Linked DNA regions of Homo sapiens: regions 2, 3, 4 and 5 are each linked to region 1. The links are contacts of gene promoters, found by promoter capture Hi-C in blood cells and fetal thymus (Javierre and others, 2016). All regions are on one chromosome and are shown on one strand. Each heading gives the region's core, a stretch centred on a gene start or on the middle of the fragment in contact. The rest is flanking DNA. Distances are from core to core; before and after follow the strand shown.

Region 1 (5,248 bases), core at 2,419-4,918:
TTTCTGTCTCATGAATTTGACTATGCTAGGCCCTGCTAATAAATAGAATCATACAATATTTGTCCTTTTATGTTCAGTTTATTTACTTAGCATAATGTCTTCAAGGTTCATCCATGTTGTAGCATGTCAGAATTTCATTTCTTAAGACTGAATAACATTCCACTGTATGCTTTATACCACACTTTGCTTATCTGTTCATTCATTGACAGACATTTGAGTTGTTTCCAGCTTTTGGCAGTTGTGAATAATACTAATATGAAAATGAATGTACAAATATCTGTTCAATTTCCTGCTTTCACTTCATCTGGGAATATATATCCAGAAGTAGAATTGGAGGATCATATAGTAACTATGTCTAATTTTTTGAGGAGCCATTCCTGGCATTTTTTTCTGTTATATTATCAGAGTCAGCTCCTACTTATTTGAACAGTTTATTTTGCCTCTCCAGTGTTCTATCCTACATTTATCCTAAATGACCTCTCTTTTGCTGGTCCCTTCTTTCATTTACAAAGATTATTTAGAAATATGATCTTATGTTCCACAGTACTGATTTTTCCCAAAACAAAACATTAGGGCTGTTTGGAACAAACTGCCATTTCCCAAGTCATAAGTTGCATTAGTTTAAAAGGTAAGAATCCATGAATTTTTTGGAAAAAAAAAAGCAGTCCTTCAAATCAGTACCAAGGTACCAGTTTGTTATGAAAGACAGTTTCTGACATACAAACGTCTCACTTAGGAACATCCCTGACATGCAAAGACCAGTGGAAACCAGGAATCTGACTCCTCCTGGAAGTCTCCACCTGCTGCCACATGGATGGTGAGGATCTTGGACTTTCAGTGGTTAGCAGGGACAGGTTAAAACCCACCTCTTCTCCATTTTCATCTTCCTTCTTGACACCAGAACTATGGGAGTGCCATCCTTGCTGTGGCTACCTGGCATCACAGTGAGAGCTCCTGTTCTCACTGGAAGATTGAATCACTTCAGAAGCAGAAGAGTGTGTGCTGGAACACAGCACAATTTTGCATACAGAAACAATGCTCTTTCACATCTAGTCAACGAGTTCTGCACATTCCATCTCCTAGCCACCTCAAAATCCATCTTTCCTCCTTGCCTTCTCTACCTGGGGTCAGAATCTCATCTGGGTCACTTCAATAGGCTCTGAACTAGTCTCCTCTACAGTCGGGATTTCTGGCCCATCCTGCACATTATGGAGATCTATCTGTCACCAGCTCAATATCACTATCATCACCAAAGACCTGAAATAACAATGTTCAGGAGAGACCTTAACAGCCCCACACCTCTACTGGGTGGAGCTTCAGGACAGCCATGTCTTCTGACTTCTAGTCTGGTCCGCACTTTTTTTTTTTTTTTTTTTTTTTTTTTGAGACAGTCTCGCTCATGTTGCCCAGGATATAGTGCAGCAGCGTGATCTCGGCTCACCGCAACCTCCGCCTCCTGGGTTCAAGTGATTCTCCTGCCTCAGCCTCCTGAGCAGCTGGGATTATAGGCACCCGCCATTACACCTGGCTAATTTTTGTATTTTTAGTAGAGACGGGGTCTCACCATGTTGGCCAGGCTGGTCTCGAACTCCTGACCTCAAGTGATCTGCCCTCCTCGGCCTCCCAAAGTGCTGGGATTACAGGCCAGCTTGGTCCGCACTTTTCTCATTGGTTGCCTTTTATGTCAGCATGGCTGTCAGCTAAATGGGAGAATGAATATAACTGATACCATTTATATATGAAGGTCAGCAGTGGAGGGGAAGGAAGTTAAAGGGAATAAACAGCAGGTATGAAATCATCTCACCACCTTTAATAACTGGTGTAGTACCCATTTTCTTCTCTTCTTCTTCTCCCTTTTCGAGGATGGTGTTGAAAGTGTTGAAAGTGGAGCAGTCAGGGTACTTCCTTCTCAAATCATCACACTTCTTTCTTCTTTACCACACTTCCTAGCCATAATCTTCACCATTTAAGAGGAGGGGACTCTTCAAACCCTTTCCATATCGAAATCTTAGAATGCAATTGTGAAACTGCACTTGACTTCCCAGATATTTGAGGAAGCTTCCTGGTTCTTGCTTTATAATCATGATCTACCACCCTTACCATCCTTCCCTGAAATTTCCCTATCTAAAACAACGACAACAAAACCTGTTACAGATATTTTTGTAAGTAGCCTTAAATTCTTTTAAAAGTATTATTATTTTTTTTATAGAGACAAGGTCTATGTTGCCCAGGCTGGTCTCAAACTCCTAAGCTCAAGCAATCCTCCCACCTCAGCCTCCCGAAGTGCTAGGATGGTAGGCTGAGCCACCGTGCCCAGCCTTAAATTCTCTTTTAAGACAAGGCAAAAGTATGTGTTAATCAAGTTAGAATTCAGGTGACCATTTGTCTCAGTTTGCCTAGGACAGTCCCAGTTTATGCCTATTCCCTTGTGTAACTTTTAAAAGAGCTCCTCCTTTTACTCTTAAAAAAAAAAAGGTCCAGTTTGGAGGATAAATTATATGCTGACCCTAGTTTAAAACACACTTTGATTTTCTAACATAGTGTTTTCCAGGTGATATTATGCTTTTGCCCACATCATTGCATTTTATTTACATAACTACTCTGCGAAGCAGGAAGGGAAATACTTGATCGCTATTAAATAAAGGAGGTAATCAAGGCTTCGAGGGGTACAGTGGTGACTGAGGTCACACACTCAGGGCCAGAACCTAGGATTCCTGACTTCAAGTCTAAAACTGTTTCAGCTGTGGATCACTATGTGCAAATGTCTGAGTAAAGGCAAACTTCACTCTCCTTTGGTGATCTGCTTGGCACTGGACTTAGAAGTTTAGATACGTTCATCCTTGCACAGAGACTGTTCTTCCACATATAAAGCAAGCAAAGAGATGGAAGAAGAATTATTAGCTAAACAAAAAGAGGCTGTTAGTGAATCCTGGGCCAAAGAATATATTTTACCAGGTCTAATTACATCAGATTACTTGAATCTTACATCTGGCCAAATTAGGATATTTCCATTTAAGAAAAGAAAACCAAAGATCAATAATGCATGCCTACTCTTGCAAAGAATGCAAAGAACATATAAATGGGTTCTGGTCAGTCTTATAGATATATTTTCCTATAATTACACACTAATTCTTTCTTAAAAATATTTCCCAAAACAGCAAAATTCTACCCTCCTTGGTAAGCAGCAAAGGGACAACACGGGAAACAAAACAAAACAAAACAAAACAAAACAAAACATAAAAACCCTAGACCATTTAAAGACAAGCATGGTGCTTTGTAAAATCTTCGGGGTATCACAGAGGTGCTGAATGCGTGGTTACATCAATGAAAAAACGCCCACTCTTTGAGCCTCCTGAAAAGGAGGCCACAGGACCCCCGGGCGCCAGGGCTTGGGAACCCAGCGCCCCTCCTTGTCTGTGCCATGACAGACAGGTTCAGTGTGACTTGCCAAGGATGGCTCCAAGCAGCTGGGCCATGTAGCCTGAACGCAGCAGAGGGTTGGACGCCTTAGAGCCAGCTGTGGGCACCACAGCCCGACCAGGGAGGCAGCGGGTCTCCCCAGGTTAAGAGGCCAGCGGAGGACGCGCGCGGTCTCCTTGGGGGAGGGTGCGGGTGGGCCGGGCGCGCATGCGCATGGGCGCCATCGCCCGCCGGAAGAGCGGCAGCCCAGGCGCTGCTGCTGGCGCCAGACGGCACCGGCCGCTGGTAGAGCGCGTGCCGCGAGATGCGGCCTCAGGACAGCACCGGGGTCGCGGAGCTCCAGGAGCCCGGGCTGCCGCTAACGGACGATGCACCCCCGGGCGCCACTGAGGAGCCGGCGGCCGCCGAGGCAGCTGGGGCGCCAGACCGCGGTAGGTGCTGGCTCTGCCTTTCCTCGCCGTGTTGCTCCCGCACCGAGCCGGGTGAGTGCGCGGTGTGGATCGGGCTCTGGTCTCGCTCGGGGGTCCCGAGCGGGCGCCGGCGGGTTGGGGTCCCCGCAACCCGGGCACAGTGCCCGCCGCGCCTCCGTCCCCACCCTGCCCGGGGCTCGGGAAACCCCTCGAGCTGTCAGCTGGGGGGCTGCAAAGCGGAATTCCCGGCGCCCCAGCCGGCGCTAAGACGGAAGAAACTTTCCGATTGTTAGCAGTCCTTTTGGGATTCCGAGGCTGCTCCTGTAATTAGTGTCGGGGCAGGGCTGTGGAGTCAGACTGCAGTTTGGCGTACCCTCCCCTAGGTCGTAGGTGGGGGGTCAGCGAGAGAGGCCATCCTGCAGTGGGGCGACGTTGCGAGGAAGCTGACCCTGAAAAGTGATCCCGGTGGTTAAGGGTTCTCTCCGAAAAGGAAGCTGAAAAGCATCGAGTCTAGAAAAAATGTTCGTCCTAGAGTTTTAGAATCTTGGAAAGGCAGAGATAAGTGGGACCGCTAGTTTTTAACCTTTAGGGATACAAGGACTTTTTAGCAAACGATGCAGAACAAGGCATATCTTGTTAAGAAGCTCACAGCCCCGTCCCCAAAGTCAGGGACCCCTCGTGAAGAACACTTTATGTTCAGTCCCCCTCCTTCGACACATGAGCAAAGTGAGGCCCAGGAAGGTGAGGGCTTTTGGGTTTTCGTTTGCTTTGTCTCCTCCAAGATGTGGAACGTGGGGGTGAGATGGGGCGCATGTCCAGGGAGCACCAGGGTTAGGATCCCAGCTTGCCATATACCGGCCTAGGGCCCTTTCCACTGGCCACAAGTGCTGCTTCAAGCACATTCCTCTTAGAAGTCGACCATCTACCAGGAGCAGCTTCCTGCAAGAAGAAGGGAATAGGCAGATCTCTTTTTAGGACAGTTACACGGCCTGCACCACCTTGTCCTCTGGGTCACCTCCCCTAAGTGTGACCCTGGATTTCTGTTCCTCTCCTCTCACTGCGCTTTCCCCTCCTCCCTTTGTGCACTTTCCCCAAGTTAGAGAGACAGACTCTAGGAAGACTATTCTTGCTCCATTTCTGTCCTAAAGGCAAACCGAAATGATCAGACTTGTGATCATTTATAAATGGGCTGGTGCCTCTAGAACAGGGGTTATGCCAGGCTGAATTGAACAGATAAGCAGCCTTTGAAAAGGTCAGTTTCTCACCTATCACCCTCTGGGTGAATGTCCTTCTGGTGGCATGCCGAATCAGTCCATGCAAACTCTTAAAGTTTCCCCTTTTTGTGAATGGAAGAGGAATTCTCTACTCCCAGGCAGCTCATGGCAAGATGAGAAACTTACGTGAGTGTATCTAAGAAT
Region 2 (5,909 bases), core at 992-3,491, 540 kb after region 1:
TTTCCCTCTTTCTGCAATACCTTTTATCTATTTTTTATTAGATTATCTTTTATGAAAGTGGTTAGTGGAGTTCTTTGTATTTTCTGTGTGCTAATTTTTTGTCATTTATGTGTGTTGGAATTTATCCTCTAAATTTATGTCTTTTTACTTTGTTTATAGTGCTCTTTGAACAGAACTCATTACTTTTTATGCTGGTGATTTTATCAAGTTTTAAAAATTAATGCTTTTGGGACTGATTTTTAGATTTTTCCCTGTGAGATTAGAAGAAAAATTCTCCTGTGTTTCTTTCTAAAGCTTTCAAAAGTTTGCCTTTCGTGTATAACTGTTTGATACATTGGGAACTGACTGTGGTATGTGGTAGGAATCCAATTTATTTTCTTTCACATTGCTAGCCGGAGGTCCCGATACTATTTATTACACAATCTTTCCTCGTTGATCTGCAGTGCCACCTGTGTTTCCATTTATGCTTGGGTATGTTTCTGAGTTGTTTATTCTTTCTCCATTGATTAATTTCTTTATCCCTGGGTCAATACCATATGTTGTTAAAAACTGTAATGTTATGGTAAATTTGGATATCTGTTAGGGCAACTCAGCCTTGCCTTTTTTCTTCTTGAAAATATCTTATTTTGGGTCCTTTATTCCTTTTTTTTTTTTGAGATGGAGTCTCACTTTTTTGCTAGCTGGAGTGCAGTGATGCAATCTCAGCTCACTGCACCTCCGCCTCCTGGGTTCAGTTGATTCTCCTGCCTCAGCCTCCCAAGTAGCTGTGACTACAGGCGCGCGCCACCACGCCCAGCTAATTTTTGTATTTTTAGTAGAGATGGGGTTTCACCATGTTGGCCATGATGGTCTCGATCTCTTGACCTCATGATCCACCTGCCTCAGCCTCCCAAAGTGCTGGGATTACAGGTGTGAACCACTGTGCCCGCCCAGGTCCTTTATTCTTTAACATAAATTTTTGAGTTTCCTTCAAGTTCCTAAAAAATCTTGTTGGGTTTCTGATGGGAATTGGATGAAATTGATAGATAAGTTTGGGGAGAATTGATATTTTTATGATAGTGTTTTCCTTTCTATAAATGTGAACTATCTTTCTATTTAATGAGGTTTTCTTTAATGTGGTTCAATAATGTATCATTTCATTCTCTCTATAAATTTTTATAAAACTTTGGCTAGATTTCTTCTCACATACCTTGTATTTTCTTGCTATTATATCTCTTTAGATTTTAAAAAATTTCCAGCTGTCATTGATGATACAAAGTCAAAATTGCTTTTTTTAAAAAAAGAAAAAAATCTTTTTTTTTTTTAATGCTTTAATGCTTTTTAGCCTCCCGAGTAGCTGGGACTACAGGCGCGCACCACCACGCACAGCTAATTTTTGTATTTTTAGTAGAGACGGGATTTCACCATGTTGGCCAGGATGGTCTCTATCTCTTGACCTCGTGATCTACCTGCCTTGGCCTCCCAAAGTGCTGGGATTACAGGCATGAGCCATCATGCCCGGCCTCTCCTTCATTCTTGAAGGATAGTTTTGTTGGATATGGAATTTTTGGTGGACAATTTTTTTTTTTCCTTTCTGACCTTTAAATATGTAATCTTACTTCTGGCCTCCATGGTTTCTGAAGAGAAATAAGCTGTTAATCTTATTGAGGATCTCTGGTTTTGATGGTACCTCTCACTTATTGTTTTCAAAATTGTCTTTGAGTTTCAGCAGTTTGACTATAATGTATCTCAGTGTGAACCTCCTTGAGTTTATTCTGCTTAAAGTTGTTGAGTTTCTTGGATGTGTAGATTATGTCTTTCCTCAGATTTGGGAAGTTTTTGGTTATTTTCTTTTTTTTTTTGAGACAGAGTCTCGCTGTGTCACCCAGGCTGGAGTGCAGTGGTACAATCTTGGCTCACTGCGAGCTCCGCCTCCTGGGTTCACACCATTCTTCTGCCTCAGCCCTCCGGAGTAGCTGAGACTACAGGCGCCCGCCACCATGCCTGGCTAATTTTTTGTATTTTTAGTAGAGATGGGGTTTCACCATGTTAGCCAGGAAGGTCTCGATTTCCTGACTTTGTGATCCACTTGCCTTGGCCTCCCAAAGTGAGTTATTTCTTCACGTATTTTTTCTGCCTCTTTGTCTTTCCCTTCTCCTTGGTCTTTTATGGTACGTAGTTGGTACACTTAGTAATGTCTCACAGGCCCCTCAGGCTCTGTTCCTTTTTCTTCATTCTTTTTTCTTTCTACTACTGAGAGTGGACAGTTTCAATTTTCTTATCATCATATTTGCCAGCTCTTTCTTCTGCCTGCTCAAATTTGCTGTTGAGTACATCTGGTGAATTTTTTATTTTAGTTGTTTTTCAGCTCCAGAATTTGTTGTGTTGCTTATTATAATTTCTGCCTTTACTGGTATTCTCATTTTGTTCATACATTTTCCCCCTTTATCCTCCTTTATTACCTTTCGTTCTTTGTCCATGGGTTTTTTTCTTTTTCAATCTCCTGGAGCTTTTTTTTTTTTTTTTTTTTTTTTTTTATGAAATTGACTTAATGTCTTTGACTAGTAATTACTTTGGGCTTCCTCAGGGAAGATTTTTGTCAAATTCCTTTTTCTAGGGAATGGGCCATACTTTCCCGTTTCTTGGTATGTTTTGTAATTTTTTGTTGTTGACAACTGGATACTCTGAGTATTATAGTATGGTAACTATAAATCTGTTTCTCCCACTCCTCAGTGATTGCTGTTTTTTGCTTGTTGAGGGCTGAAGCCACCTGTTTGTGACTTTACAAGCTATTTTCACAAAGTATGTATTCCATATTGTGTATGGTCACAAGTTTTTGTTCTGTTGTCTCTGTGGCTAGCTGGTGACCTGACAAAGATTTTCTTAGATATCTGGCTCCAAAAAAGGAGATCAAAAAGGTTTTACCTTTTTTATTGTTCTAATAATACTTACAGTGAAAGCCACTGCTGTGGAGAGTAGTGAAACTGATGCATGTGCCTGCATCACTCCCTTAGGGCCAGACCAACCAAAATGTACAACCCTAAATTTTGAAGGACATGATCCCTACTGTCCCTCCTGGCACCGGTTAGCAACTCCAGGAACATGGGCTGCTATCCCCACTGCCACAAGAGGTGGTGGGTGTGGTGGTGGTGGTTGTGAGGAATAGGGGAAGGTAATTGGTTTATGCATGCTGCTTATTCATACTTATGAAAGATCGGTAGCCTCTTCCTTCATCAAGCACTCCCCTGGTTGTTAAAAGGGTTTGGTCAGTTCCTAGAGTTCTACTAAAGTACTTGATTCCAGTTACTCTTAGTTTTTTTTTTTAACTCTTACTTTTTTTGAGACAGAGTCTTGCTCTGTCTCCCAGGCTGGAGTACAGTGGTGCGATCTCAGCTCACTGCAACCTCCGCCTCCTGGGTTCAAGCAATTCACCTGTCTCAGCCTCCTGAGTAGCTGGGATTACAGGTTTGCGCCACCATGCCTGGCTAATTTTTGTATTTTTAGTGGAGACAGGGTTTCGCCATGTTGCCCAGGCTGGTCTCGAACTCCTGACCTCAGGTGATCCACCCGCCTCAGCCTCCCAAAGTGCTAGGATTACAGATGTGAGCCACCATGCCCCGCTCCAGTTACTCTTTCTAGCTCAACTTTTACTTTGGTGGGGAGACTGACCCCTAGATCTTTCTATTCTGTCATTTTGCATCCATGATGTCTTTTGAAGTTCAAATGTTTTAAATTTAGTTAAGCCCAGTTCATCAACTTTTTCTTTTGTAGATCATGTTTTTGTGTCATATCCAATAATTATTTTCTTAAACCATGGTGACAAAGATTTTTTCTTGTGTTTATTTGTGTGGGTAGATAGGAAACCTTTAGGGTGCAGGCAGGTCACGTAGGAATTGTAGAGGGAATATGACTTGATGAGAACTGTCTGGCCTGTGTGGGGCTTGCAGAGGAAATTGGCACACTGTTGCTGGCAGGAAGCCTTTGGTGGAGTCAATTTTTTTGTTGAGCAGGCTGCAGGAACGCCATCTCCAGGTTGAGGCTGCAGGTTCAGCAAGGCTGCAGGTTTGCTGAGGGGCTGCAGTCTGGGCATCGAGCTAAGCAGAATTTTACTGGATGTCCTCACACTTCTACCCGATCCACTCTGCAGCAGCTGGAAACCACAGGAGAGCCCCTTTCTCCTTCAGTGTCCCTTTGGTGCCCTCTACCCAGAAAGCTTAATAATTTCATGTTTGTTTTAAAGGAGAAATGATTAAAGGAATTTTTTCTGTTATCTTAGAGCATAAAGGTGAATTTGGAGTTAAGAGGTATTAGAAGAATCATCAACAGAAATAATAAAAAGATAAACAAATTGGAAGGAAAATGATAGCCATAAATAAGATGTAGACATTTGTTTAAATCAGCTACAAAGTGTTTTCTTGATAAGTGGTACACAACGTATCAAACATTGTTTAAATTAATAGACCATCCTTTGAGGCTTCAAATTTTTTTCTTAGAAGTATTCCTAGTCCTCAGCATATTCATTATTGAAAACGTTCACCTATTTAGTGATCTTATGAAGTAGAGAATTAAGTCACTGTACATGGTCTCTGAGGTGAAACCTCCAGAGTATCTTAAAGTAGAAATTACTCTAGTGTCATATGTTTATTTCTGTTATACACCTGAGGAAATAAGAGTGTTTATTTCCTTTTCCTTTCTTTTTTTTTTTGGAGGCAGGGTCTTGCTCTGTTGCCCAGGCTGCAGTATAGTGGCAGTATCATAGCTCACTGCATCCTTAACTCCTGGGCCCAAGTGATTGTCCCACCCTAGCCTCCCAAGTAGCAGGGACTACAAGGTGTGCACCACCATGCCTGGCTATTTTTTTTAATTTTTATTTTTTGTAGAAACAGGGTCTCACTACATTGCCCAGGCTGTTCTCAAACTCCTGGGCTCAAGTGATCCTTTTGCTTTGGCCTCCCAGTGTTGGGATTACAGGCATGAGCCACTATGCCTGGCCATTTCTTTTCTTTATTATTGATTAGCCTGCATTCTTTTGTAGGAGTCCCTTAACATTTTTCATTAAAAACTTATTTTCTATTATCACTAATCTGCACTTTTAAGATATATTGATACGGCATTTTGAGTATAGATAAATCTAATTATTTGGGACTTCAATTTGGAACTGTTTGTAATTAATCATATGTGTGAATTAAGAATTTTCTTACTGTTCACTTATAGCTTATGCAAAGGGTTTATATTGAGTTGAATTCATCAGTACCTTCCTAATTGGTTCATTGGGCCCTGGTCATGTTGTTTTGATGGGTACATATGTTGAGTATCATCCCTGCTTACATAAAAAAATAGGTACTTAATTTGGTTGGTTAGGGCATGGAGATAATAGGTAAAATCCTTAATACTTGTGCAGGGTGCACAATGACGCGGAGTGCAATGAGGCGGTCTCGGCTCACTGCAACCTCCGCCTCTAGGGTTCAAGCGATTCTCCTGCCTCAGCTTCCCGAGTAGCTGGAATTACAGGTGCCCACCACCACGCTTGGCTAATTTTTGTATTTTTAGTAGAGACAGGGTTTCACCATGTTGGTCGGGCTAGTCTTGAGCTGCTGACCTCGTGATCCGCCCGCCTCAACCTCCCAAAGTGCTGGGATTACAGGTGTGAGCCATCGCACCTGTCCTGGGTTTTGTTTTTTTTTTTCTAGATTTTTCAGTGAGAGATACTTTCTTCCTTGGTTATATATTGACTCTTTTGTAGTAAGCTTTCTTGTACATAGCTGGCCTAGGAAAGACAGGTTATGTATATATATTATAGCAATAGGGGATTAGTAGATATAATTTTATTATAAATAACAAATTATTACTGTAAATAATATTTATCCAAATATTGTATTACTTAATCCTTTAACTGTTATATAGATTCTTTTAAATGTTTTTGTTTTCAG
Region 3 (5,655 bases), core at 469-2,968, 520 kb after region 1:
ATGTTATTTAGAAAACAAAGGACTTGTGGTTCAGAATTCTGTTTTGGTCACCAAAATTTTTGAGTTAAAGACTAATAAAACTAGCCAGGCCCGGTGGCTCATGCCTGCAATCCCAGCACTTTGGGAGGCCGAGGCAGGCGGATCACGAGGTCAGGAGATCGAGACCATCCTGGCTAACACGGTGAAACCCCGTCTCTAGTAAAAATACAAAAAAACTAGCTGGGCATGGTGGCGGGTGCCTGTAGTCCCAGCTACTCGGGAGGCTGAGGCAGGAGAATGGTGTGAACCCAGGAGGTGGAGCTTGCAGTGAGCTGAGATGGCACCACTGCACTCCAGCCTGGGCACTCCAGCCTGGGCGACAGAGCGAGACTGTCTCAAAAAAAAGACTAATAAAACTTTTGATAGGTAATTATCATATAAGGTAACTAGCACACTAATTGAACAAATAACTGGAGGATAATGCCCATCTTTGTAATATACTCCCAGAAGCACAGTAATACTGTCAAAAATACTAGAATAAGGATTTACTTTCAAAACTGGGTGTACAAATAACACAGCTGAGAACTATACTGCATGAAGGGAAAATTTTAGGAGATAACCACTATAAAATTTTCTTGAGTAAAATAATAACTAGCCACTTATTTTAATGAGTAGATAAGATTGTATTGCTCTTCCACAACACCACTGGAACATAAACTTTTGATTTAGTTGTCCATTTAATAGAAACATAACACTATGTAGGGAAAAAAAATACAATTACCTTGGTCAGGATCTGGGTTTCACCTGTGCTACTGGAAGAAAGGTTCTATCATGCATATCATCAGTTCAGGATGTACTTCTACGTCAGACATGAGCAAAATGTCAACAAAGCAAAGCACCAGCAACTACCATACAGCTAAGTGTGTGCTTTTTATTCTCAGAAGGTTTAGACATCTGATAGATGTTATTTAGTCTTGCTTGAATTCTTTTACTAATTTGGAGCTTGGTTTTCTCAACAGAGCCTATTGAGGGTATTAGTTGTTAGAAGGTTCTATGTTGAAGTACAGTGTAGTTCATTGTAATGTTCATAGTCCCAATTTCCCCCCTAGAGCCACAAAATACAATTCAATTCATTTACATGATTACCCTTCAGACATTTAAGATTGCTACAGAACCCTTTTTAGTTCTTATTAATTAGTTTGGAATTTTCTTACTATTTATTCATTCAGCAAATTATTGTGAGTCCTCTATGTATACTAGGCACATAGGATATTAGGTAAACAGAACATTTTATTTAAAAAGTTTCAGATAAGGGAGTCCTATAATATCAATGTTTACAATATTACCTGATAAGTGTTATAAAAGAGGATATGAGGATGCATCAGTACTGAGGAAGGGGTGATTAACTTTGAGACAGGAAGTTAGGAACTTTACAGTAGATGAAACATGAAAGCTTAGTATTTTACTAAAGAAGAGGGTTTGGGTTAGAATGAGTGTGATGACAGGACAAGTAAAAATAACATATATATAGAATTATATATAAAATAGCTCAGCACTTTTTGGGACTGCAGATTCTCATCTGGATGATTGCCTCTAGGGTGCATGAGGTATGTGTCAAAAACTGAGGCAAAAAGGTTGGGTCTAAATTATGGGGGAGCTAAATTTGTCTGACAGAACTAAGTAATTTGAACTGATTCAGTGAGAGGTGGCAGTACAGGGAACATTTGTGGGTTTTTTAAACAATGGAGACATACTTAGAACTACATTTCGGAACGGTGACTTGCATAGCGGTGTGGCAGATGATTTGCAACTTGAGAAACTGGAGCATGGAGATAGTTATGGTAGTTTATGGGTGTTTGTCAGTCTCCTTTTCACAATGTGATATACAGATAGTTGATGTAAATAACATTTTTTAAACCAGTAATATTGGATTAGAGAAAAAAAGTAAATAACTAGATAAATCTTTCAATCTCTGCAAGAAGGGGTGGTTAATAAGTTGAGTGAGACATACCAGTAGCCTTTTTGTGAAGCTTTAAGGAAAATAAACTTTGAACTGGATTTTTGTTTTTGAAGGAATTGAGATGATATGAAAATAGAGTCATGTGAAAAATTATGCTTACCATATTTTGTAAGGAATTTAATGAGGATGGGAAAAGAGCCAGAATAGCTATTTGGCTACATGTTTTGATGTTGCGGATCAGAAAGGAAACAACCTCAGGAAAAACCCTGGAGGTGTAAAATTGTTGCAAAATCAAGGTTTCACATCTAGTGTAAAAGTTCTGTACATTGCTTTATAAAAGTGGACTGGGACAGTATACTTATCAGCCATTTTTGAGGATTGAAAGAGATTAAAAAAAATTGAGACTTCCATAATTACCTCTATGTATATGTGTCTCTTCTTCTTTTTTTTTTTTTTTTGCTACGGAGTCTCGCTCTGTCGCCCAGGCTGGAGTGCAGTGGCGCAGTCTTGGCTCACTGCAAGCTCCACCTCCCGGGTTCACGCCATTCTCCTGCCTCACGCCTCCCGAGTAGCTGGACTACAGGCGCCCGCCACCACGGCTGCCTAATTATTTTTTTTTGAGTTTTTAGTAGAGGTGGGGTTTCACCGTGTTAGCCAGGATGGTCTTGATCTCCTGACCTCGTGATCCGCCCACCTCGGTCTCCCAAAGTGCGGAGATTACAGACGTGAGCCACCGCGCCCGGCCCATGTATGTCTCTTCTACTAAATGGCAAAGCCTCCAGAGACAGAGACCATGTTCTTGTTCATTTTTTTACCTCTGTGTAGAGATATAGATTAAATTGAAGGATAATAAAACCAGAAACTTGGGCCCTGCCACGCTTGAATTTGGTTATCTCCAAGTAAATCTAGCTCTATTAATTCTCACAAAGCCCAACAATCTTTAGTTACCCATGTGCTGGCAAAACAGTCCATGTTTAAAGGAGTAACTACCTAAACATATAGATTTTGGTAAAATACTTGTGGCAGCTGCGCAGCTTTTAAGAAAATCCAGATTACAGCATCTGTAACTGAAATGTTGTAATATAAAGAAAGTGCTGAATTTTGTTTTATAACTATTGCCTTAATGCTATTGCTAGTTTTGAAGAAAATACCTTCTTTAGGTTTTCTTATCAGCCTAACAGATTATTCTCAATTTCTGTAGAACTAGATATGTCTGTTTTTCGCCTTCAATCTTTTATACTTTGGTCTATTATTATTATTATTATTATTATTATATTATTTTTGAGACAGTCTCACTCTGTCACCCAGACTGGAATGCACTGGTGCAGTCTCGGCTCACTGCAACCTCTGCCTCCCGGGTTCAAGTGATTCTCCTGCCTCAGCCTCCCGAGTAGCTGGGATTACAGTCACATGCCACTGTGCCAGGCTAACTTTTGGTATTTCTAGTAGAGGTGAGGTTTCGCCATGTTGGTCAGGCTGGTCTTGAACGCCTGACCTCAAGTGATCCACCCGCATCAGCCTCCCAAAGTGCTGGGATTAGAGGCTGAGCCACTGTGCCCAGCCTTTTTTTTTTCTTTTTTTTTCGAGGCAGAGTCTCGCTCTGTTGCCCAGACTGGAGTGCAGTGGCGCGATCTCGGCTCACTGCAACATCCACCTCCTTGGTTCAAGTGATTCTCCTGCCTCAGCCTCCCGAGTAGCTGGGACTACAGGTGCACGCCACCACGCCCAGCTATTTTTTGTATTTTTAGTAGAGATGGGGTTTCACCATGTTGGCGAGAATAGTCTTGATCTCCTGACCTCGTGATCCACCGGCCTCGGCCTCCCGAAGTGCTGGGATTACAGGCGTGAGTCACCGCGCCTGGCCTCCCAGCCATTTTTTTGATAGCAAACACATACATCTTTTATTTATTCTTAAGGATTTGTACATTTACTATTAAATGTGTTACATATACGGGTTATTTAATGTATATTAAAGTATATTAAGTATATAGGTTATTTAGTATGATTCCATACTAAATAACATTTGTTTATCATCGTGAAGTTTTTAACATTAACCTGCATTTTAGATTCAATAAAACTTAAAAGGCCGGGTGCGGTGGCTTACGCCTGTAATCTTACCACTTTGGGAAGCCCAGGTGGGTGGATCATGAGGTCAGGAGTTCCAGACCAGCCTGGCCAACATGGTGAAACCCCGTCTCTACTAAAAATAGAAAAATTAGCTGGACGTGGTGGCGCCTGTAATCCCAGCTTCTCGGGAGACTGAGGCAGGAGAATTCCATGAATCCGGGAGGCAGAAGTTGCAGTGAGCCGAGATTGCGCCACTGCACTCTAGCCTGGGCGACAGAGCAAGACTCTGTCTCAGGGAAAAAAAAGACAAACTTAGAAGCAGCTCATATAGAATAAACAGCTTTTGATAGGAACAGTCATTTTTGTATTTTGTTTAAAAAGCCTTAACCAGTGTAATTTAGTTTTCTATTTAATACATTTAATACCAAACAGAGCCACAAAGAAAAAAGTGAATCTCCTCTAAGTAGTTTTTATTTTACCAAAATGTGTGGTTTAGATATGGCTTTTGGTTTGGGATACTTACTCCTACTGAAAGAAGCAAGCAGTTAATCTGTTGATGAATGCTGGCAACCATATTTTAAGAACTGATAACTAGAAGTTCAGTTTTATAAATCTGTTAAATTTTTTTATCGCAGTGGAATATATTGCTGTGGACCGAATGTTTGTGTCCCTCCAAAATTCATGTGCTGAAGGCCTAATCCCCAGTAATGATATTTGGAGGTGGTATCTTTGAGGTAATTAGGTTTAAATGAGTTCATCAGGGTGGGACTCTAATGATGGGATTAACACCCTTATAAGAAGAGGCCCTGGAGAGCTTGCTTCCCTTTTTCTGCCCTGCTGCTATATGAGCACACAGCAGAAAGGTAGCTGTCTGAAAACAGAAGAGACTCCTCACCAGACACCAAATTTGCTGGGACCTTGATCTTAGACTTCTCCATCTCCAGAACGTTGAGATACAAATGTCTGTTGTTCAAGCTACCAAGTCGATGATATTTTGTTATAGCAACGTGAGCTAAGACATGCATATGACATAAAATTTACCATTAGTGACATTCAGTACATTCACCATGTTGTACAGCTAGCACCACTATCTAATTCTAGAACATTTCATTACCCCAAAAAGAAGCTCTGTACTCACTAAGCAGTCACTTCCATCCTGCCTTGTCTCCAACCCAGCAATCTGTTTTTGGTCTCTGTGCATTTGCTCAGTCTGGATATTTCATATAAAGGGAGTCATATAGTTTGTCACCGTTTATGTCTGGCTTCTTTCACTTTGCATGTTTTTAAGGTTCATTTATATTGTAGCATGCCTCAGTACAGCATTACTTTTTATGGTTGCGTAATAGTCCATTGCTTGGATATACCGTTTTGTTCATCCATTTATCCACTGGTGGACATTTGGGTGGTTTCCGTCTTTTGGTTGTTATGGATAGTGCTGCTAGTATCATTTGTGTACAAGTTTTTGTTTGAACACTTTTTTCTTTCAAGTTTTATTTTTAATTGACGAATGTATATTTATGGGGCACAATGTGAAGTTTTGATACATGTATGCATTGTGGAATAATCAAATCAGTCTAATTAGCATATCATAAACTCAAACATGTATCATTGATTTGTCCTGAGAACATTAGAAAACCCTCTTTTAGCTG
Region 4 (5,481 bases), core at 9-2,508, 650 kb after region 1:
ACTTACGGTGTCTTCTGAGAGGTGATGCTGGCGTCCCCTCGGTCTTCAGCTTTTGCTCCAGTGCATCTCGGGTGGGAGAAAGGCTGTTTCTTGTTGGAGTTGAGTAGTTGGTAATTTTTTTAAAACTGCAATTTGAAAGCTTTCTCCCCCGTCAGGCTCGGAGGCTCCAGCAATGGTTGAACAACTGGACACTGCTGTGATTACCCCGGCCATGCTAGAAGAGGAAGAACAGCTTGAAGCTGCTGGACTAGAGAGAGAGCGGAAGATGCTGGAAAAGGTAATTTAGGCATCAGGTTCGTCGTCGTGAAAGCCTGTGGTAACCTCGGCTTTAACCCGGAGGTGTGGTTTGTGTTCTTTGCTTTCCTATTTAGTGGGCTTTTTAATAACTGAAAGAAAACAGCTTTATTACTTGTCTTTTTTGTATGTTTACAGATATTGCCTTTGAGAATCCTTTCGCAAGTGCTTTGAATGGTGTGTTTCTATGAGATGTAGTCTTGGTAGTCCCATCACTTTTAAATGAGCATTTCAGATTGCTTGTTTAGCCATGAAAAGTCTTTCAAAGTCCATAGTGAGTTTTTTCGTTTGTCATCCTTATTTCCTTTAAAAATTACCTTAAATGTATGTCTCATGGCAAACAGGAATCGCTAAAACCTGCAGAAGTAATGTACTAGACTGAGGGCAGGAGAAGTTAGCATCAATCAAAGGCTGGGCTGGAATCCAAGTCTAATGATTTCCTTATACTGTAGTGCTGTTTTCCACCTAAGTGATCAACTTGCTGTTTGTTTTTCTTTTGGTTTCATGGCCTGTGTATTGCTACATAAGATTCTTTAGCTAAAAATGTGCCGTACTTTTTCAATGACAAGTTGCTGTAGTTTTCTTGTAGAGAGCATTTTGTAAGTTACTAAAAACAGTTTTTAACCTGAAAAATTCTTGTTTATTCTAAAGCCCCACCCTGCTGCTTGATTCATATGCAAGAAAAAGAATGATCGTTGACTCTTAAGTACTGCCTAGTACGTGGTTTTCTTGTGCTTTATTAATTTATTAAACTCTACCGATATTATGATATAGGTTATTTTTTGTTATTTTCATTTACAAATGAAGAAACTGAGGGAGAAGGGCACATAGTAAGTGTTGAAGTCAAATTTCAACTCAGGCTGCCTGCAGAATTTCTGTCCTTAATAATAGTGAATTAACTCATGATTATAAAACTACTTAAGTTGGAAAATAATGCATTCCAAAAACGAGTAATGAGGCCGTTGGTTCCCTGTTATGTCAACAATAATTTTTTTGTCAGCATTGTTAATACTTCTTGAACATTTATTAGGAGTCATGCATTGTTTTGAATGCTTTATATGTATTTACTCATTGAATCCTCAACTATTCTGTAAAGTAGATGTTCATTATTACTATTACTGCTATTAAACTTACTAGTTTAATTACTAGTATAAACAATTGCTATTATTGAACTACACAACCAAATAGGTTTTATTAGTCATCTTATTTTACAGATGAGGAAACTGAGGCACATAGAGGTTGTTTGGGTGCCACAGTTGGTAAATGGCAGAGCTAACATTCCAGTGTAGGCCATGTGGTTCTAGAATGCACATTTTTTAACTACCATGCTATAGTTCCACTCCAGTAATACTCCTTCCGTTATTACTGATGATCTCTGGTTGACTATAACCAGTTAAGGTAATATATTAACAAATTTTCTTTAAGTAACATCAATACTTTTTGCTTCAGGGTAGATGTGAATTAACAGAATTGAGAGGTCTGACCTGAACCACCTTTTCTCATTCTTTGAATTTTCATAGTACTTTATTACACAGAATTTACCATGACCAAATAAGTAATGATAAATACTTCATACTACTTTTTGATTCTTTCTCACTTTGTTTCTTGAGGGTGCATCACTTGCTGTTTTGTTTTTGTAGGCTTTGCACCTGGCACATAGTAGGCAATCAGTAAGTGCTTATTGAATAGCTAACGATGATAAAATGGTATTTTATAATATACAAGATTATATACATATACTAAATATACTTATTAGCTATATAACCAGATGAATTATAAAGTATAAATTCTGGGGCAAGTGCCCAGAATGGAATCAACTGAAGAAGTCTAAGAGGGATGTGATAATTTTGTCTTGAGTAATGTATCTTCAGTTTTATCTTGTTTCTTCATATACCCATTATGAGTGTTGGGTAGGGAAATAGCATTTAAAGAAAGATATGCCTGAGATATGACAACAGTACATTTTCAGAAGGTATTATTCATTCAAGGAAGAAACACTTCACATTTAAAAAAGATAAGTCAAATATGTAGTATTTTATATATTTGCTGAGGTCAAATGACCTGCTACTTTTAATGACATTTTTAAGCTTATGAACAAACATTTTGCAGTTAGTCCTAAATTTAATAATTATGCATCATAGAACCTAAAGAGTAATTTTTAATCCTTCCATTAAAAAAGTATATGGCTGTTTTCATGGCCTGGCATGGTGGCTCACGCTTGTAATCCCAGCACTTTGGGAGGCCGAGGCGGGTGGATCACCTGAGGTCAGGAGTTCGAGACCAGTTTGGCCAACATGGTGAAACCCCGTCTCTACTAAAAATATAAAAATTAGCCAGATGTGGTGGCGCATACCTGCAGTCCCAACTACTCAGGAGGCTGAGGCAGGAGAATTGCTTGAACCCAGGAGGCAGAGGTTGCAGTGAGCCGAGATGGCATCACTGCACTCCAGCCTGGGTGACAGAGCAAGATTCCGTCTCAAAAAAAAAAGTATGTAGCCGTTTTCAATCTTAATATAAGTGTGTAATTTGCTAAAACATTAGTGTTGTGGTTTCGTATTACATTGTCTTGTTATGTACAGATAAGGAAAGTTTTTGATTATTTTTTGCACTGGACCCTCATAAAAAGTGATTGCCTAGATGACACTAGAAAATTCTAAGAAAAGTTTTCAGAGTCTCTACCTACTTGAGATTAATAAACATGTCTTTGGAGGCCAAACAATTAACTATGCACAGGTAGAGATTCCTTTTCTTTTGGGAGAATACAGTCTGTATGGGCATGTATTTAGAAGTACTTAACAGAGGAAGAGCTAGCTTAAGTTCCTTAATGAGAAGCATTTGGCTTTAGGAAATCCTAAGGTTTGTGAGGAACCTAGAAAATGACTTTGACATTCATTGGCTACAGTTATTTTCTTTGACTTTTCACATGTATTTCCCTTTAAAAGAAGTCATTGTTAGTCTAGGAGATTTGAGTACTGATAGTGCCTGTGAAGTGGAGGAGGGGGAATAGTTGGAGTCAGGAGATTTCTTGGAGAGGTAAAAGGATCATGATATGTGTAGGCTAAAATAGAACTCCTCCCACCCCCCAATAAAAAATCTGGGATTGGTGTTGGGAGAGATAATGGGGTAGATAATGAGGAATTTCTGCCCTCGGTGTCCATTGGCATACTCTGTACTGTAGTTACCCAGAGTTGTTTCCTGCCAGGCACTCAGTGCTTTTAATAGATGGAGTTGCAATTTACCGTAATATAATCATGAAATTGATAAATAAAGAAAAAACAGTGATAGGAAGATTTGAAATACAGAAGACCAGGTTTAAGGATTAACCACTTACATGGTATTATTTTAATATTAATTGTATATTATTTTTTTCCATGATGGCATCTTAAAGCTTTAGTGATTTTTATTTTTATTTTTATTTTTTTGAGACAGAGTTTCACTCTTGTTGCCCAGGCTAGAGTGCAATGGCGCAGTCTCGGCTCACTGCAACCTCTGCCTCCGGGGTTCAAGCAATTCTCCTGCCTCAGCCTCCTGAGTAGTTGGGATTACAGGCATGTGCCGCCAAGCCTGGCTAATTTTGTATTTTTAGTAGAGATGGGGTTTCTCCATGTTGGTCAGGCTGGTCTCGAACTCCCAACCTCAGGTGATCCGCCCGTCTTGACCTCCTAAAGTGCTGGGATTACAGGCATTAGCCACCATGCCCAGCTGATTTTTTTTTTTAGGAAAAATTTTTCCAGGAGCACCAGGCAAGTATTTAGGTTTTTTTTGCTTGTTTGTTTGTTTTGAGACGGAGTCTCCCTCTGTCACCCAGGCTGGAGTGCAGTGGCGTGATCTTGGCTCACTGCGACCTTCACCTGCCGGGTTTAAGCGATTCTTCTGCCTCAGCCTCCCAAGTAGCTAGGACTACAGGCGCGTGCCACCACGCCCAGCTAATTTTTTTTGTATTTTTAGTAAAGACGGGGTTTCAACATATTGGCCGGCCTGGTCTCAAACTCCTGACATCGTGATCTGCCTTCCTCGACCTCCCAAAGTGCCAGGATTACAGGCGTGAGCCACCATGCCTGGCTGTATTTAGTTGTTTTAAAAATATGTGCTGGCCAGGCGCGGTGGCTCATGCCTGTAATCCCAGCACTTTGGGAGGCTGAGGCGGGGCAGATCGCTTGAGCCCAGGGGTTAAGACCAGCCTGGGTAACAGGGTGAAACCCCATCTCTACAAAAAATTAAAAAACTAGCCGGCATGGTGGCACGCGCCTATAGTCCTAGCTACTCAAGAGGGTGAGGCAGGAGGATTATCGCTTGAGCCTGGGAGGCGCAGGTTGCATTGAGCCGAGATCTCACCACTGCACTCCAGCCTGGGTGATAGAGCGAGACCCTGTCTCAGAAAAAAGAAAAAGTGCTAATTCTGTACAGGATTTAAGGTATCAACTATATCTAAGTTAAACCCACGTTATTTTAACTGAACTTAAATTTTAAAAGTTAAAAATTTAAGAATCCATATATTGTGTAAGTAATTTTCATCTCCCTGTTTTCATATTCACCTCAGTAGTTGCGTATTGTAACCACAGTAGTATACTGGTAATAGTAAAAGAAATTCTGTCCTAAAAGAACTGAAAATTGAGTTCAAGATATTAAGAATTATCTGTGTAGGTGGGATTATGGGTGATTTATATATTTTTTGACATTTAGTTTTTCTGTAATGAGTATGCATTACTTTTGTTAGGTCCATTCTTAGAATCTTACTGTAGTCACTGATTTTATAATAGAAATATATTTTGATGCCGGGTACGGTGGCTCACACCTATAATCCCAGCACTTTGGGAGGCTGAGGCAGGTGGACCACGAGGTCAGTTCAAGAGCAGCCTGGCCAAGATGGTGAAAGCCCGTCTCTACTAAAAATACAAAAATTAGCGGGGTGTGGTGGCAGGTGCCTCTAGTCCCAGCTATACTGGGGAGGCTGAGGCAGGTAATTGCTTGAACCCGGGAGGCGGAGGCAGAGGTGAGCCAGGATTGTGCCACTGCACTCCAGCCTGGGCAACAGAGTGAGACTCCATCTCAAAAAAGAAAAAGAAATATATTTTGAAAGAAAGCTATAGTGATGATGTAATAGCTAGGAAAATGTAAGGCAATATAAAATGATATCTTAGAGATATTGATAAGCTGGAGCAGCAAAACTACCCAAGTGCTAGGGCA
Region 5 (5,814 bases), core at 188-2,687, 560 kb after region 1:
CTTGTCTCCATAGTTTTGCCTTTTCCAGACTATTATGTAATTGGAACCAGACAGTACTTAGCTGTTTCAGGTTGGTTTCTTTCACTTAGTAATATACATTTATATTTCTTCCATGCCTTTCCATGGCTTGATAGCTCATTTCTTTTTAGTGCTGAATAATATTCTATTGTCTGGGAACACCACAGTTTATTTACCCATTCACCTACTGAAGGACGTCTTAGTTGCTTCCAAGTTTTGGCTGTTGTTAATAAGGCTTCTCTAGACTTCTGCGTGCAATTTTTTGTGTGGTTTTATGTTTTCAGTTCATTTTGGTAAATACCAAAGGAAGTGATTACTGGATCATAAGAATATGTTTAGTTTTGCAGGAAGGTAGCAAGATATCTTCCAAAGTGGTTGTACCATTGTGCATTTCCAGCAGCATTGAATGAGAGTTCCTCTTGTGCCACATTTTCTCCAGTATTTGGTGCTGTCAGTGTTTTGAATTTTGGCCATTCTCATAGCTGTGTGGTGGTGTCTCATTGTCTTAATTTGCAGTTCCCTAATGACATATGATGTTGAACATCTCTTCACATGCTTACTTGCCATCTGTATATCTTCTCTGATGATATACAGGTCTTTTGCTCATGTTAAAATCAGATTGTTCAATTTCTTATTGTTGAGTTTTAAGACTTCTTTGTATATTTTGGATAACAGTCCTTTGTCAGGCATGCCTTTGGCAAATACCTTCTTTCTATGGCTTGTCTTTTCACAGAGCAGAAGTTTTAAATTTCAGTGAACTCCAGCTGATCAATTATAGTAGTCTCCCCTTATCACAGTTTCACTTTCCACAGTTTTGGTTATCCATGGTCAGCTGCAGTCTGAAAATATTAAAATAAAAATAAAAAATAAAAATATTTTGTGTGCATGTATGTCTGTGTGTGTGCATATGTGAGTGTGTGAGAGAACACATTCATATAACTTTTATTATAGAATTTTGTTATAATTGCTCTATTTTATTATTGTTAATGTCTTACTGTGTCTAATTTATAAATTTATAAAGTTTATAAAACATTATCATATGTGTAGGAAAAAAGCACATAGAGGGTTCAGTATCAGGCATCCACTGGGGATCTTAGAACATATTTCCCAAGGATAAGGGGGGACTACTGTATTTTACTTTTTATTTTTTTGTAGATCATGCCTTTAGTGTTGATCTAAAAAGTCATCACCATACTCAAGGCCATCTAAATTTTCTGTGTTATCTTCTAGGAGTTATATAGTTTTGTACTTTACATTTAGGTCTGTAAACCATTTTGAGTTAATTTTTGTGATGGATGTAAGGTCTGTATGTAGATTGATTTTTTTTTCATGTCGATGTCCAGTTGTTCCAGTACCATTTGTTGAAAAGCCTATCTTTGCTCCATTGTATTGCCTTTGCTCCTTTGTCAAAGATCAGTTGACTATATTTATGTGGGCTTATTTCTGGGATCTCTGTTCTGTTCCATTGATCTATTTGTCTGTTCTTTCACCAATGCCACACTGTCTTGATTATTGTAGCCTTCTGGTAAGTCTTGAATTCGAGTAGTGTCAACCCTCTGACTTTGTCTTTCTTCAATATTGAATTGGCTATTCTGGGTCTTTTGTCTCTCCATGTAACTTTAGACTCAGTTTATCATTCCCAAAATAATTTGCTGAGATTTTGATTGGGATTGTGTTGAATCTATAGATCAAGTTGAGAAAAGCTGACATCTAAATGACATTGAGTCTTCTTTTCTTTTGAGACAGAGTTTTGCTCTTGTTGCCCAGGCTGGAGTGCAGTGGCGCCACCACAACCTCCACCTCCCAGGTTCGAGCGATTCTCCTGCCTCAGCCTCCTGAGTAGCTGGGATTATAGGCATGTGCCACCATGCCGGGCTAATTTTCTATTTTTAGTAGAGACAGGGTTTCTCCATGTTTGTCAGGCTGGTCTTGAACTCCTGACCTCAGGTTATCCACCCGCCTCGGCCTCCCAAAGTGCTGAGATTACAGGCGTGAGCCACTGCGCCCGGCGAGTCTTCTTAATCATAAACATGGAATATCTCTTCATTTGTTTTGTTCTTCTTTGTTATCTTTCATTAGAGTTTTGTACTTTTCCTCATACGGATCTTGCATATGTTTTGTTACACTTATACCTAAGTATTTCATTTTTATGGTAATGTGTTTTACATTTTAAATTTTACTTGTTCATTGCTGTTATATTGTAAGAAAGTGATTGACTTTTGTACATTAGCCTTCTGTCTTGTAAACTTGCTGTTATTGCTTATTAGTTCCAGAAGTTTTTCTGTTGATTTTTTTGGACTTTCTCCATAGACAATCATGTCATCTGTAAACAAAGACAATTTTATTTCTTCTTTCCCAATTAGTGTAACTTTTATTTCCTTTTTCTATTGCATTAACTAGGACTTCCAGAACAATGTTGAGAAGCAGTGGTGAGCGGGGATATCCTCGCCTTGTTCCTGACCTTAGAGAGACAGCTTCTAGTTTCTCACCATTAAGTATGATGTTAGCTATGGGTTTTTTGTAGATGTTCTTTATCAAGTTGAGGAAGTTCCCCTCTATTCCTAGTTTACTGAGAGGTTTTCTCATGAATGGTGTTGGATGTTGTCAAATGCTTTTCCAACATCTATTGATGTTTTATCATATGATTTTTGTTCTTTAGCCTCTTGATGCAATTGATTAAATTAATTGATTTTTTTTTTTTAAACATTGAGCCAGTTGTGCATACCTAGGATAAATCCCACTTGGTCATGGTATAGAATTCTTTTTATACATTGTTGGATTAGATTTGCTAATATTTTCTTGAGGAATTTTTGCATTTATGTTTATAAGAGATATTGGTCTGTACGTTTCTTTTTTAGTAATGCCTTTGTCTAGTTTTGGTATTAGAGTAATGCTGGCTTCAGATAATGAGTGAGGAAGTATTTCCTCTCCATCTGTCTTGTGGAAGAGATTATAGATAATTGATACAATTTCTTCCTTAAATGTTTGGTAGAATTCATCAGTGAACCCATCTGGGTCTGTGCTTTCTGTTTTGGAAGATTATTAATTATTGATTCAGTTTCTTCTTATGTTAGTTTGGGTATATTTCAAGGAATTGGTTCATTTCATTCAGGTTATCAAAATTATGGGCATAGAATTGTTCGTAATAAGCCAGGTGTGGTGGCTCAGGCCTGTAATCCCAGCACTTTGGGAGGCCAAGGCAGGTGGATCACTTGAGGTTGGGAGTTCGAGACCAGCCTGGCCGACGTGGTGAAATCCTGTCTGCACTAAAAATATTAGCTGTACTAAAAATATTAATTTTCAAAAAAATTAGCTGGACATGGTGGCATGCGCCTGTAGTCCCAACTCCTTGGGAGACTGAGGCAGGAGACTCGCTTGAACTCGGGAAGCAGAGGTTCCAGTGAGCCAGGATGGCACCTGGACAACAGAGCTTAAGACTCCATCTCAAAAAAGAAAAAAAAAAAGAATTGTTCATAATACTTATTCATTATCCTTTTTAATGTCCTTGGGCTCTGTAGTGATGTCTCTACTTTCATTTCTGATATTAGTAATTTGTGTCTTTTTTGTTTTCTCTTAGTTATCATGGCAAGAGGATTATAAATTTTATTGATCTTTTTAAAGAACTGTTAGCTTTTGGTTTTGTTGATTTTTCTCTACTGACTTCCTGTTTTCAATTTTATTGATTCCTGCTCTTTATTTTTTTCTGCTTACTTTGTAATTAATTTGCTTGAATTTTTCTTGTTTCTTAAGGTGGAAGCTTAGATGATTGATTTTAGATCTTTCTTCTTTTCTCATGTATTCATTCAAAGCAATACTTTTGCCTCTAATACTGTATTTGCTGCATCTCACAAATTTTCATAAGTTGTATTTTCATTTTCATATAGTTAAAAATATTTTAAAATTACCCTTAAGATTTCTTCTTTGACACATGTGTTATTTAGAAGTGTGTTGTTTAATCTCCAAGTATTTGGGGATTTTTCAGCTATCTATCTCTGTCAATTTCTAGTTTAATTTAATTGAGATCTGAGAGCAGACATTTTATGATTTCTGTTATTTTAAACTTGTTAAGGTGTAGTTTATGACCTAGAATGTAGTCTGTATTGGTGAATGTTCCATGTTAGCTTGAGAAGAATGTTTCCTCTGCTGTTGTTGGATGCGGTAGTCTACAGATGTCAATTACATCCAGTTGACTGATGGTACTGTTGTTAAGCTATGTCCTTACTGATTTTCTGACTGCTGGATCTGTCCATTTCTGATAGAGGCATTAAAGTTTTCCAGTGTAATAGTAGATTCATCTATTACTCCTTGTAGTTCTATCCGTTTTTGCCTCATGTATCTTGACCACTCTGTTTTTAGTTGCATATATGATAAGGATTTTTGTGTCTTCTTGGATTACTAACCCCTTTATTATGTAATGCCCCTCTTTATTCCTGATAACTTTCCTTGCTCCGAAGTCTGCTCTGTCTGAGATTACTATAGCTACTCTTGTTATCTTTGATTAGCATTGGCATGGTATATCTTTCTCCATCCCTTTTTAAAAAATCTATATGTGCCTTTATACTTAAAGTGGGGTTTTTAAAATTTTAACCTAATTTAATTTAATTTTACTTTAAGTTCCAGGATACATGTGCTGACCTTGCAGGTTTGTTACGTAGGTATGCATGTGCCATGGTTGTTTGCTGCACCTATCAACCTGTCATTTATGTTTTAAGCCCCACATGCATTAGGTATTTGTCCTAATGCTCTCCCTCCCCTTGTCTCCCCACCCCCTGACAGGCCCCTGTGTGTGTTGTTCTTCTCCCTGTATCCATGTGTTCTCATTGTTCAACTTAAAGTGGGTTTTTTTGTAGGCAACACATGGCTGGGTCTTCTTTTGTAATACACTTTGGCAGTCTCTGTTTCTTCATTTGTTTGTTTGTTTTGTTTTATTTTTGAGACAGAATCTTGCTCTGTTGCCTAGGCTGGAATGCAGTGGTGTAATCATAGCTCACTGCATCCTCAAACTCTTGGCCTCAAATGGTCCTCCTGCTATGGCCTCCAAAAGTGCTGGGATTACAGGCATGAGCCACCATGCTTGGCCTCTCTGTGTTTTAATTGGTGCATTTAGACCATTGATATTTAAAGTGATTATTGATACAGTTGGATTATTATCTCTCATTTCTGTTACTGTTTGTTAGTTGTTGCCTTTATAATTTGTTTCCAGTTTTGTCTTCCACATCTTTTCAGTCTTTAGTTTTAATTGAACATCTTATATGATTCCATTTTCTCCCATTTCTTAGCATATCAGTTATACTTCTTTTTTTAAAACTTTTTTTAGTGGTTGTCCTGGAGTTTGCAGTATGTATTTATAGCTAAGCCAACTCCACTTTCAGGCAACACTATACCTGAAAGTGGAGTTTCATGTGTAATGCAAATACCTTATAACAACAAAACATTCCTAATTCCTTCTGCCCATCCCTTTTATTACTGCCATTCGTTTTACTCACATATGAGCATATGCACACATGAGCATACATAATTGAACACATTATTGATGTTATTATTTTGAGTAAACTGTTGCTATGGTTTGATTGTTTATCCCCTCTAAAATTTATGGTGAAAGGCAATCCCCACTGTGGCAATATTGAGAGAGGGGGCCTTTAAGAGGTGATTAATTCTTTAAGAGGATTAATCTATTTTATAGGATTAATCCATTAATGGATTAATGGATTATTGGATTATCATAGGAATGGGCCTAGTGACTTTATAAGAAGAGGAAAGCAAGATCTGAGCTAGCATGCTTAGCCCCTCACCGCA

Evidence for each region. Contacts are between HindIII fragments. The CHiCAGO score rates a contact against its expected background, and 5 or more counts as called.
Region 2: a fragment that was not itself captured here is called in contact with the fragment with the promoter of SLC35G1 in region 1 in 1 of 17 cell types (megakaryocytes); the score reaches 5.4 in megakaryocytes.
Region 3: a fragment that was not itself captured here is called in contact with the fragment with the promoter of SLC35G1 in region 1 in 1 of 17 cell types (megakaryocytes); the score reaches 5.2 in megakaryocytes.
Region 4: a contact is called between a fragment that was not itself captured here and the fragment with the promoter of SLC35G1 in region 1, in 1 of 17 cell types (M1 macrophages). The highest score is 5.0, in M1 macrophages.
Region 5: a contact is called between a fragment that was not itself captured here and the fragment with the promoter of SLC35G1 in region 1, in 1 of 17 cell types (megakaryocytes). The highest score is 5.0, in megakaryocytes.

The regions. Positions count from the first base shown.
Region 1 is chr10:93,890,310-93,895,557 of GRCh38, forward strand. SLC35G1 (solute carrier family 35 member G1) reads left to right here and starts at 3,669. Exons shown (of 3, transcript NM_001134658.3): 1 at 3,669-3,902. The coding sequence starts at 3,725. RefSeq lists a silencer at 3,643-4,072. The HindIII fragment of the contact is 3,349 bases long and covers 2,057-5,248 here.
Region 2 is chr10:94,435,503-94,441,411 of GRCh38, forward strand. The region is part of intron 1 of TBC1D12 (TBC1 domain family member 12); the gene reads left to right. Among named protein-coding and RNA genes, the nearest start is that of TBC1D12, 36 kb to the left of the region's middle. The HindIII fragment of the contact is 3,898 bases long and covers 293-4,190 here.
Region 3 is chr10:94,415,370-94,421,024 of GRCh38, forward strand. All of the region lies in intron 1 of TBC1D12 (TBC1 domain family member 12), which reads left to right. Among named protein-coding and RNA genes, the nearest start is that of TBC1D12, 16 kb to the left of the region's middle. The HindIII fragment of the contact is 577 bases long and covers 1,431-2,007 here.
Region 4 is chr10:94,546,222-94,551,702 of GRCh38, forward strand. It overlaps HELLS (helicase, lymphoid specific), which reads left to right. Exons shown (of 22, transcript NM_018063.5): 2 at 156-277. Among named protein-coding and RNA genes, the nearest start is that of HELLS, 3.2 kb to the left of the region's middle. RefSeq lists an enhancer at 1-496. The HindIII fragment of the contact is 2,242 bases long and covers 138-2,379 here.
Region 5 is chr10:94,452,482-94,458,295 of GRCh38, forward strand. The region is part of intron 2 of TBC1D12 (TBC1 domain family member 12); the gene reads left to right. Among named protein-coding and RNA genes, the nearest start is that of TBC1D12, 53 kb to the left of the region's middle. The HindIII fragment of the contact is 4,672 bases long and covers 1-3,773 here.